Regions from separate parts of the Homo sapiens genome. Here regions 2, 3 and 4 are each linked to region 1. Evidence: promoter capture Hi-C in 16 types of primary human blood cells and fetal thymus (Javierre and others, 2016). All regions are on one chromosome and are shown on one strand. Each heading gives the region's core, a stretch centred on a gene start or on the middle of the fragment in contact. The rest is flanking DNA. Distances are from core to core; before and after follow the strand shown. Region 1 holds the start of GNL3L (G protein nucleolar 3 like). Region 2 overlaps USP11 (ubiquitin specific peptidase 11). Region 3 overlaps UXT (ubiquitously expressed prefoldin like chaperone). Region 4 overlaps TBC1D25 (TBC1 domain family member 25).

Region 1 (2,720 bases), core at 128-2,627:
TTTTATGCTGGTTGAAGTCAGCGGCACACTAACACTGAAAGAAATAGGGGCTCTGGTTCTCTGCATGGGTGGTGTGTGGAGGGGGCTGGCAATGCAGCTATAAATTAATAGATCAGCCCTAATACTTGGGGGTGGGGGCGTCTGTGATTCTACCCTGGGTGGAGAGAAACAGATCTGAGCTCCACTACCTTGGGTAAAGGGGAGAGACCATACGCACTGAACTGCCAGGTAATCAGCGATGTCACTCCCTCTCAACATTACAGGGAGGGAGACCTGCATATCTGCTCCTGTGGGGTATCTCCCTTGCTACATTTAGTGATTCTAAATCTTTGGGGGAGGTAGGGGGAGGTAGGGGGATGATCTGTGTCTACCTCAAAGGGAGAGGAACACATCTGAGCCCCTCTACCCCCACGGCCCCTCAAGGGGCAGACCTGACTGTCTCTTCATGGATTAAGGTCTGTTCCTGTTTGCTTCGAAGCATGTTGGGTGCTTCGAAAAATTACACATTCGGTAAAACGGGGGCTACGGAAGTAGGGATCAGGTCTGATTCTCCACAATGGGGACTCACTCTAACCTAAGAGGAGGGGGCAATTGGCTTAGTTGTCCATAAGCTGAGGCCTGTAACTGCAACCACTTTGGGGACGGGTGAGTTGGGGAGCGATACTGAGGGCTCTGAGTCTACGCGTATGGGGAGGAGGTGCCCTCCCTCTGTATATTAAATGTTTCTAAGCTCCTCTATGCTGGTATGGGGGCAGATACATCAAAGCCTCTGTCTGTCCTGAGGAGGTGCCTCGAGACGGCTGTCTAGAGCCAAGCCAAGGAAGTGCCTTAAGTCGGGAGAAGTCTGCGCTGCTCAGCTGGGTGGAGGGAGATGTCTCTACACGGTTGGGGTGGATGTCCCCCATGCCTTTGGTGGGTCGACTCCTGTCTATACAAGGTGAATGCAGAATGAAGCCTCACTATCTTGAGGACGATCAACGCTTCACCACACAAGTGAAGTTTGTGCCTCTCTACACAGTGTGTCCCGGGTCTACACCTTTCTAGGTGGGATGGGGCAATGCCCCTCTCCCGGCAAACTCCACTCCGCGAAAAGGCAATTCGGCGCGTCTCCACGTGTGCCGCGATCCCTGCCCCTCTTCCGGTCCCTTCTACCCTGGAAGGGATCCTGCTGTTTACCTCTCTATTCCAGGTTGGCGGGCATCTCTGGTTTCACATCCAATAGACGATCCTAACTGCCCGGCCGTCTAGGTGAGCGCACATTGTGAGAAAAGAGGAGAGAAGTTTCTTACTTACACTTCCGGCGGGGATCTGAGAAGCGAGGGCAACACGACAACTCGGTTGAGCGAGCAGAAACTCTCGCGCAGCTAGGCTCCGACTTCCGGATCCCAGGCCGGCGGCGCCCGACTCCGCCCACCGTGCGGTCTCCGCGGGGGGGGGGGGGGGGGGGCGGAGCTTCTGACTGACAGCTCACGCCCGCCCGTCCCTTCTTCGCGACCACGCTGGCCCCGCCTCCTGCCTGCCCCGTAGTTAAGGAAATAGCGGAGGAGGGAGAAGGAGGACGGGGAAATGACCGGGAAGAAGCGGCGGGTCGACTGGTGCGGCCATATACCTTACTTGCAAGCCAAAATTTTGTCTGCGGGCATCTGTCTGGGGTTAAATATGCGTGCTCCCAAATCTCAATAACCAGGCAGTCACCACGCCCGAATCAGACAAGGGTGGGGGATGGTGTCTTTGTCTGCCTGGAAGATGGCGACAGCAGGGTGTGAGAAAATGGCCGCCTGGGTCACGTGTCTGGCCGAGTATTTCCCCACCTGAAGTGAATTGGTTAGCTATTCCCAACCACCTTCCCGGGTCCTTGAGCCCCAGACCATCCCTGAGCACTCCTAGCTTTTTCTGCATACGTTCAGATCTATGGCCATACCCAACCCGAGCTGGAGCAGGAGCCAGAACGACTAGAAGCCTCTCCCACACTAGAAGCCTCTCCCACCCTTTTGCCTTCTTCCCCTCCTACTCCATCCTTCCCTCAATCCCGGAGCAGCGTCTGCAGAAGGGAATGAATTTATATCTCTGGAGTGGGGCAAGTAGGGGTTTCTGAAGCCATCTCAAGGAGCTGGCTGGGAAGTGAGGTCTCCCCCACAAAATAGTAAATATTAGTCTGCAAATGTTTTCTTCTTGATGGTTTAATTCCAGCCCCTCCTCTTCCTCAAGCCTAAACCCTGGGGTGGGGCACAGAGTAGGTGGAACTCTGTGCCTCCGAGGGTGGGTTTGTTTCTCCACTTCAAGCACAGACGGGCTGAAAATGACTCCATCTGTCCCTTTATCCCTTACATAAACAGGACTCACTACCTCTCTACATCGTTGGAGGGCTTCTAACCTCTCATCCTAGAGACACATGAAATTCCTCTGGACCTGAAACCAGCCCTGACCACTTTCACCTTTCCCCCTGCATTTGCAATTTTGCTCTGTTTCTCTAAGACCTAACTCTTGTCACTTCGATGAAACCTTCTCTGACTTTCGCAGATGAGTTAGAAACCCAGAGCACCTTACCTATACAGCTAAGCTAGCACTTATCACAATACTGTAGTTGTTTATGTGACTGTGTCTCCACAGGAGGGTGAACTCCCTGAGAGCAGGGGCCATGTATCTTCAAGCTTTCAACAACACCCAGCACAAGACTGGTATGAGGCAGGCTTCAACAACTGTTTGTTAAATGGGTGAGT
Region 2 (2,720 bases), core at 1-2,500, 7.3 Mb after region 1:
TTTGCCATGCCTCCTGTGCCACCTCCTGTTGATAGTGTCATGGTGGGTGGTGGGGCTTGCCCAGGGTAAGAGGAAACCATGGCTTGGGGTGCATTCAAATGGGGTGAAGCGGAAGGCCACTGCTAAAGTCCAGAGGCAGAGCTCCAGCTAGGGATACACAGAGACTATGTTCACGGTCAAGACTGGGGGTCATTTAGGGCAGGAGACTGCGCTGGGGTTTACTCTGGGTTGACTGTGGGGGCAGATATGGTATTGCAACTAAGGTTAAGAGTAAGGCTGGAGTTGAGGTCAGGTAGAGAAACTTAACAGAAAATGGTGGCGTGTTAGATACCCCAGGGAGGCCAGAAAATCCCCGAGGCAGAGGCCTTGGTGATGTTAATTGGACTGCAAATGCGGGGGCAGCCTACCTGATCCGGTCGCCCAGCAGCATCGCACAGCTCCACATACTCCTTCTTCTTCACCCGATTAAGGTCCTCATGCAGCCCGTCCAGGAGGAATGACAGCAGCTCCTGAGAGTCATGCTGCTGGTAGCCCAGAAATTGGGATGCAAAATGGCCAACCTTGTTCTAAGAAGATGGGCAGGGTCATCAGAGAGAGAGGGAGTTAGGAGAGCCAAGAGACGTAGGGGGTCGGGGGTGCCCAGGGTTGAGTCACACCTTGAACACATGTGGCACAATGGAGCGGTGGTGGCCAGACCACGCCTGCTTCACCAGGTCTGCATAGGCCTCTGCGATCTCACCCTTCATGCCCAGTGGGTTGCGGAAGTTGAGCTCCTCCAGGTAGCAGTTGTTGAGGAAGTACTCGGTGAGCTGTGGCACATTGCTGAGGCACTGCAGAGGCCAGAGACCAGGTGAATGAGGCAGAGGGGAGACAGAAGGTTCAAAGTGAGGATACACAAAAAGAAGCCAGGAGGAAAGAGAGAGGAAAACAAGAGAGAAGGGGAAGGGAGGAGAGAGAGGAGCAGGAGAGTAGGGGAGAGAAGGCATTAGGATTTCACGAGAAGGAAGAACGTGGGAACAGGGAAGAGAAGAGGGAAAATGAGGGCAAGCTGAGAGAAGAGGCTGATAGTTCAGGAATGAACGTGGGCGTGCCACTTCAGACTTGTGGGGCCTCAGCTTTCATCCTGACCCCTTGCCCTGTAGTCCCCTCAGGACCCCAGCTCTGTCCCCAATCCTCAGCTCTTGAAGCCCAACCACGTGGCTGTGCCAGACACAACTATAATGGCCCAACCTGCAGGGCCGAGTTCATGAAGCACGTGTTGCCCAGATTGGTGAGGCCACAGATGCCTGGCTGACCCTTGAAGTCCTCATCCTCTTCCGACATGTTGTTGTTCCTGGGGTTAGATGAGAAACTGTCAGCTGAGGGCCTGCTGCATGGGGGTGCAATGTGCTCATGGGCTAAATCATTTTGCCTACTGTGGGACGCCCCCGCTCTGGACCAGATACCCCAAGGGCTCACATGACATGCAGCTGTGCGCTGGGCCAAGTGCCATCTTTCTTGCGGGTCTCCATGATGATCAACTGGGTTGGAGAAAGAGAAAGAAGGAAAGGTATTAATGGAGGACATTATGGGTACCTAGCCTTCATTTCCCCCGAGTACTGCCAGGTGAGTCTATCTGCCAGTCCACCTGAACAGAAAAGCCCTCCCCACCCTTACCTGCCCAGTCTCAAGGGCCGCATCGAGAACCGTGATGTGTGTGTCATACAACCTATCCAAAGAGCCTTCTGAGTTCTTGGCCCAAAGCCGAGTGTCTTCCTGGGGCTCCACCAGAAACCGCTCCCGAGCTGTGCGCAATACTAGGCCTGTGCGGGGTGATGGAGTACATTCAAGATCTTTGTGAGACCCAAAATGATCAATCCATCTGGGCATACCTGACTCATCCCTACGGACCTCACATGCTTGGCCAATACCTGTGTCCTCAATCAGTCTCCAAATGACTGGCCCACACTCCAGACTGGAGATCTCCAGCAAATATCCTCTGCCACACCACGTAAGCCACTAGAATGTAGCTCACATACCCTCAGGGCTCTAGTAGATCCCCTCAGTGCCTCCACCCAACTTAGCCAATGCCTTCTGGGTCTTCCAAAGTCTGACCAGTGCCTTCTCAGTCAGCTTCAGCTTAACCCTATGCAACCTCAAGTCACTGAGTTGGGACTAGTAGCTAGGAACACCAACCCATTGCGTGACCCTTAGACTCACCAATAGAATCGGTATGGCTGAACTGAACAGTGTGAGATTTGCCCAAATCATTGTGCCGGACAAGCAGCAGTTCTACTGGGTACACTTCGACCTTCTGGATGTTGGGCAGCTCTATGACCTGTAAGAGTAGAGGGGTGCAGACACAGGTGTACTCACACAGACACAGCGCTGTGACCTCTCAAATGAGAGGAGCACACACTCTGCCTTACAAACATAGCATACAAACACACATATACAATGGTCTGTAAAGAGAGCCACACAGGGGAACACACACAGCAGACAAAGATACCTGTATGATGAGCTAGGAGGGGGAAGAGAGCAGACATATGTGTACCTACCCAGCATACATGGATCTGTACCCATGCTGGGCCTACAAGGCTTTCTTACTACGCACTCCCCGCCATGCACCCTCCCCATCCATTATACCTTGCGTTCAATGGGTGGCTGGCCATGCTCTAGACCATACCAGCTGACCAGGTAATGCCAAGCAGCTGCTGGGAGCAGCACATAATCCTCGCCTT
Region 3 (2,720 bases), core at 64-2,563, 6.9 Mb after region 1:
AGCAATCCCCTTGCTTCAGCCTGCCAAGTAACTGGGACTACAGGCGCACTGCTGTACCCGGCTTTGTGTTTGTTGAAATAATTTGAAAGGGTATGCTGGAAGCATATTAAAGTGGTTATTGAAGCAGATCTGTGTTGGGGGTGATGGGGAGAGAAAATGTGGGCTCCAGTTGAGTTTAAGGCAGGAGTGTCCAATCTTTTGGTTTCCGTGGGCCACATTGGGAGATTTGTCTTGGGCCATACATAAAATACACTAATGCTAATGATAGCTGATGAGCTAAAATAAAAAAGTTGCAAAAAAAAATCACATAATGTTTTAAGAAAGTTTATGAATTTGTGTTGGGCTGCATTCAAAGCCGTCCTGGACCGCATGTGGCCCACTGGTTGCAGGTTGGACAAGCTTGATTTACGGTTTTGTGCAGGGAAGGGCAGTTGGGAGCATAGATGAGGGATTTGAAATGTAGCTAGGGAAGGCCTCCCAGAGGAAGGGACATTTGAATCATTTGACTGAGTGACAAAGCCATGGGGCTATCTGGCGAAGAGCATTCCTGGCAAGAGGAATAGTGTGCCTGGTATGCTAGTGAAACTACCAAGAGAGGTGAGCTTGGTTTCAATGGAATGAGCATGGGGGCACTGAGCAATACACTTAGATTAACAACATCTCACAAGTGTGAGTACCATTGATTTAAACTTCTTTGTTGGTTGTGTTTTGTGTTTATGTCTGTTCTACATTCATTTTTTCCAGAGTTGCCTCCCTTAGAGTTTCAGTAATTTTTATCTTTTCAAACCTTTCCAGCCATGGGAAGGACTAGCAGGTGCTAGTGGACCCAAAAGAACCTCAGACCTGCTGAGATTTCTGATTCTTGGTGTTCAGACCAATTAGCAAATAGTTTAATTAAACGGCCTGCTTTCATGGTCAACACAATTCTGAACTGGTGGTCATTTAGACCAAGTCCACTTTGTTTTTGAGACGGAATTTTGCTCTTGTCGCCCAGGCTGGAGTGCAGTGGTGCGATCTTGGCTCACTGCAACCTCTGCCTCCTGGGCTTAAGGGATTCTCCTGCCTCAGCCTCCCAAGTAGCTGGGACTACAGGCACCCACCACCACTCCCGACTAATTTTTGTATTTTTAGTAGAGACAGGGTTTTGCCATGTTGGCCAGGCTGGTCTCAAACTCCGACCTCAGATGATCTGCCCACCTCAGCCTCCCTAAGTGCTGGGATTGCAGGTGTGAGCTACCGCGCCCAGCTAAAGTCTAGTTTGTATAAGAAGGCTTTCCTTGTTATGTCACAGGATTCCTGAGCCTATCAAATAGATTTTAATGTTTTGAGACTCCACGTACTTCCCCAAAATGAAGTATTTAAATTGTCAGTGCCTGCCCCCTTGCCTGGTCTTTTTGATGTACTGACCTGGTCTGTTAGTGTGATGAAAAATATGGTTGAGTCTTACTGCTTTATTGTAATTAGTAGGACTGTCTAGAAGTTTAATTTTTCTAAGAGATGAAGATTTGAGTCTATGTAGCTGGCTGTCCTTTAAAAATATTTGGTTACTTGGGATATACTTTGAACTAACTTTCTGGTCATTTTATGTGATCAAAAGTGTCAGTTCTTCCTGTTCTTAGTATATTTCTTTGTTTGGGAAGTGGAAGGGATGAAATCTCTATATTCTTTCCTGATGACACAGAAAGGAGTACACATCCACATCTCATGAATAGACATGTAATTATAGAAGAAACAGCCTAACGGCCGGGCGCGGTGGCTCACACCTGTAATCCCAGCACTTTGGGAGGCCGAGGTGGGTGGATCACGAGGTCAGGAGTTCAAGACCAGCCTGTCCAAGATAGTGAAACCCCGTCTCTACTAAAAATACAAAAAATTAGCCGGGAACGGTGGCAGGCGCCTGTAATCCCAGCTACTTAGGAGGCTGAGGCAGGAGAATCGCTTGAACTCGGAGGGTGGAGGTTGCAGTGAGCCGAGATCACGCCACTGCACTCCAGCCTGGGCGACACAGTGAGACTCCATCTCAAAAAAAAAAAAAAAAGCATAACCATATGACTATTCACACTGCCTTACATACTAAATCAGTAGTAATTTGCTTCTCACATAGCAAATAAAAATAAATCAGCAGTAATAAACATATCCCTTTTGTGTTACAGCTAGCATTTGGTGAACTCTGTATTTTTCTCCCTTTTAAAGTGTTGAACTCATAGGTTTTCATAAGGTAAGCTTACACCATTAACTAATTTTGTTCTCTTTTTTGATGTTAAAATTGTCCCTTAGGAGCTGATCAGGTTCATTCTTCTGTTCTTTAAGCATTACCCCCAGAATATTCTTGAAAGTATTCTTGCTCTCTGGCAACAACACCCATACTTCATTTATTTCCTGTCCCTAAACATACACTCAGCCAACCTCAGGTTCCTTTTAATGGAGTAGTCACTTATTCATTCAACATACGTTGGGTGCCTCCTCTGTGCCACACACTGTTCTGGTCCCTGGGGATAGAGCAGGAAACAAAAAAAAACAAAATCTGCCCTCATACAGCTGACATTCTAGTCAGGGGAGACAAACAATAAACAAATGAATGATGTAGTATGTCAGATGTTGACAGTGCTATGGAGAAAGCATATCATGGAGATCAGAAGCATTACCTGCAATGGAACAGTCATGATTTTAAGAAGAATGGCTGACTGGATGTGAAGTGTGAGAGAGAGGAGCCCAGGTTT
Region 4 (2,720 bases), core at 127-2,626, 6.0 Mb after region 1:
GCTGAGGTGGGCGGATCACAAGGTTGAGACCAGCCTGGCCAACATGGTGAAACCCCATCTCTACTAAAAAATACAAAAAAAAATTAGCCAGGTGTGGTGGCAGGTGCCTGTAATCCCAGCTGCTTGGGAGGCTGAGGTAAGGAGAATCGCTTGAACCTGGGAGGCAGGGGTTACAGTGAGCTGAGATCGCGCCACTGCACTCCAGCCTGGGCAACAATGTGAGACTCCCTCTCAAAAAAAGGAAAAAAAAGGCCGGGCGCAGTGGCTCACACCTGTAATCCCAGCACTTTGAGAAGCAAGGCGGGCGGATCACAAGGTCAAGAGATCGAGACCGTCCTGGCCAACATGGTGAAACCCCGTCTCTACTAAAAATACAAAAATTAGCTGGGCGTGGTGGCGCGTGCCTGTAATCTCAGCTACTCAAGAGGCTGAGGCAGGAGAATCGCTTGAACCTGGGAGGCAGAGGTTGCAGTGAGCCGGAATTGTGCCACTGCACTCCAGCCTGGCAACAGAGTGTCTCAAAAAAACAAACAAACAAACAAACAAAAAACAGGCAAAGAATGTCTACAAACACAAACTCACCTAGTAGCAAAACCTGATCTGAACTGACAGGAGACTATATATAGTCTTTATATAACCCACGTAGTGTGAATATGCACACATTTCCCTGAAGAAACATCCAAGTGTTTCATTGTGGGCTGCTTGGCTGCTGGCCCAGACCCTGCTTGTGGTATTACATAATATTCATGATACGCGCATTTCCTTATCATAAAATTGTCAAACTTCCCAAACCCTAAATTAATATATAAACTCAGTGCAATGCCAGTCAGAAATTGAATGGGGGTTTTTCCTGGAACCGGATAAAATTATCTTAAGGTTTCTATAGAAGAATTCACATTTAAGAATAGCTAAGACAGGCTGGGCGCGGTGGCTCATGCCTGTAATCTCAGCACTTTGGGAGGCCGAGGTGGGTGGATCACGAGGTCAGGAGATCGAGATCATCCTAGCTAACACGGTGAAACCCTGCCTCTACTAAAAATACAAAACATTAGCCGGGCGTGGTGGCGAGCGCCTGTGGTCCCAGCTACTTGGGAGACTGAGGCAGGAGAATGGCGTGAACCCAGGAGGTGGAGCTTGCAGTGAGCCAAGATTGTGCCACTGCACTCCAGCCTGGGCGACAGAGCAAGACTCCATCTCCAAAAAAAAAAAAAAAGTTAAGACAAAGAACAGTGGGAGGATGGCAAAAGCTTATCGCCTGTAGTCCCAGCTACTAGGGAGGCTGAGGCAGGAGAATGGCGTGAACCCGGGAGGCGGAGCTTGCAGTGAGTTGAGATTGCGCCACTGCACTCCAGCCTGGGCGACAGAGCGAGACTCCATCTCAAAAAAAAAAAAAAATTTGACCACAAAACCACTGTCATAAAAATAACATGGTGTTAGCACAGCAGTAGACAAATAGAGCCCATTGGTAGAATGCAATAGAAAGCCCAGAAATAAATCCAAGCTTGTATATATGGAAACTGAATATGTGACAAACGTGGCATTTCGAATCACTGCAGAAAAGGTGATTATTTAATAAATGATGCTGGCAGGCCGGGCGCAGTGGCTCATGCCTGTAATCTCAGCACTTTGGGAGGCTGAAGTGGGTGGATCACCTGAGGTCATAAGTTCGACACCAACCTGGCCAACATGGCAAAACCTCATCTCTACTAAAAATACAAAAATTAGCTAGGCATGGTGGCGGGCACCTGTAATCCCAGCTATTTGGGAGGCTGAGTCAGGAGAATTGCTTGAACCCAGGAGACGGCGGCTGCAGTGAGCTGAGATTGTGCAACTGCACTCCTGCCTGGGCGATAAGAGTAAAACTTCGTCTCAAAAAAAAAAATTAAATTAAAAAAAATGATGCTGGCATAATTGACTATCTTGATTTTTTTAAAGCTAGGTCTGCTTATCACAATGCTGACAGAGAAAAGATTTATATGTAAAAAAGAAAACAATAAGCATAGTAGAAGAAAATATAGAATATTTGTATAAGCTTATGGATGGGGAACATGTTCCAAAGTAATAGGAGAAACTCAGCCAGGCACAGTGGCTCATGCCTGTAATCCCACCACTTTGGGAGGCCCAGGCAGGTGGATCACTTGAGATCAGGAATTCGATACCAGCCTGACCAACATGGTGAAACTCCATCTCTACTAAAAATACAAAAGTAGCCAGGTGTAGTGGCACATGCCTGTAATCCCAGCTACTTGGGAGGCTGAGGCAGGAGAATCACTTGAACCCAGGAGGCGGAGGTTGCAGTGAGCCGAGATCGCGCCATCGCACTCCAGCCTGGGCAATGAGAGTGAAACTCTGTCCCTCCACCTGCAATAAAAAGGAGAAACTCAGAAATCATAAAGAAAAAGATAGATATCTGTGTAGGCGTGCAATCAAATGTTTAATTTTGATAGGACAAAACAGATCCATCCCGTAAGCAAAGCCAAAAAACAAAAGATCAACTGGGAAAAATATTTGCAGTACCTATGATAGAAAGGAGGTTGGGGGCTGGGCACGGTGGCTCCCGCCTGTAATCCAAACACTTTGAGAGGCCGAGGTGGGTGGATCACTTGAGGTCAGAAGTTCGAGACCAGCCTGGCCAACATGGCAAAACCATGTCTCTACAAAAAATACAAAAATTAGCTGGGCATGGTGGTGCACACCTGTAGTCCCAGCTACTTGAAAGC

What was found. The method cuts DNA at HindIII sites, captures the fragments that hold promoters and counts their contacts. A CHiCAGO score of 5 or more calls a contact.
Region 2: a contact is called between a fragment that was not itself captured here and the fragment with the promoter of GNL3L in region 1, in 1 of 17 cell types (neutrophils). The highest score is 7.4, in neutrophils.
Region 3: a contact is called between a fragment that was not itself captured here and the fragment with the promoter of GNL3L in region 1, in 1 of 17 cell types (neutrophils). The highest score is 11.7, in neutrophils.
Region 4: a contact is called between a fragment that was not itself captured here and the fragment with the promoter of GNL3L in region 1, in 1 of 17 cell types (neutrophils). The highest score is 7.0, in neutrophils.

The regions. Positions count from the first base shown.
Region 1 is chrX:54,528,876-54,531,595 of GRCh38, reverse strand. GNL3L (G protein nucleolar 3 like) reads right to left here and starts at 1,377. Exons shown (of 16, transcript NM_001184819.2): 1 at 1,177-1,377. RefSeq lists enhancers at 972-1,231, 1,242-1,301, 1,752-1,801, 1,456-1,976. The HindIII fragment of the contact is 4,164 bases long and covers 1-2,653 here.
Region 2 is chrX:47,239,387-47,242,106 of GRCh38, reverse strand. It overlaps USP11 (ubiquitin specific peptidase 11), which reads right to left. Exons shown (of 21, transcript NM_001371072.1): 3 at 2,626-2,720; 4 at 2,200-2,317; 5 at 1,657-1,802; 6 at 1,459-1,520; 7 at 1,231-1,333; 8 at 657-830; 9 at 408-566; 10 at 1-25. Among named protein-coding and RNA genes, the nearest start is that of USP11, 7.7 kb to the right of the region's middle. The HindIII fragment of the contact is 8,680 bases long and covers 1-2,720 here.
Region 3 is chrX:47,653,527-47,656,246 of GRCh38, reverse strand. The region is part of intron 5 of UXT (ubiquitously expressed prefoldin like chaperone); the gene reads left to right. Among named protein-coding and RNA genes, the nearest start is that of UXT-AS1, 3.9 kb to the left of the region's middle. The HindIII fragment of the contact is 1,824 bases long and covers 402-2,225 here.
Region 4 is chrX:48,549,155-48,551,874 of GRCh38, reverse strand. The region is part of intron 3 of TBC1D25 (TBC1 domain family member 25); the gene reads right to left. Among named protein-coding and RNA genes, the nearest start is that of TBC1D25, 11 kb to the right of the region's middle. The HindIII fragment of the contact is 254 bases long and covers 1,250-1,503 here.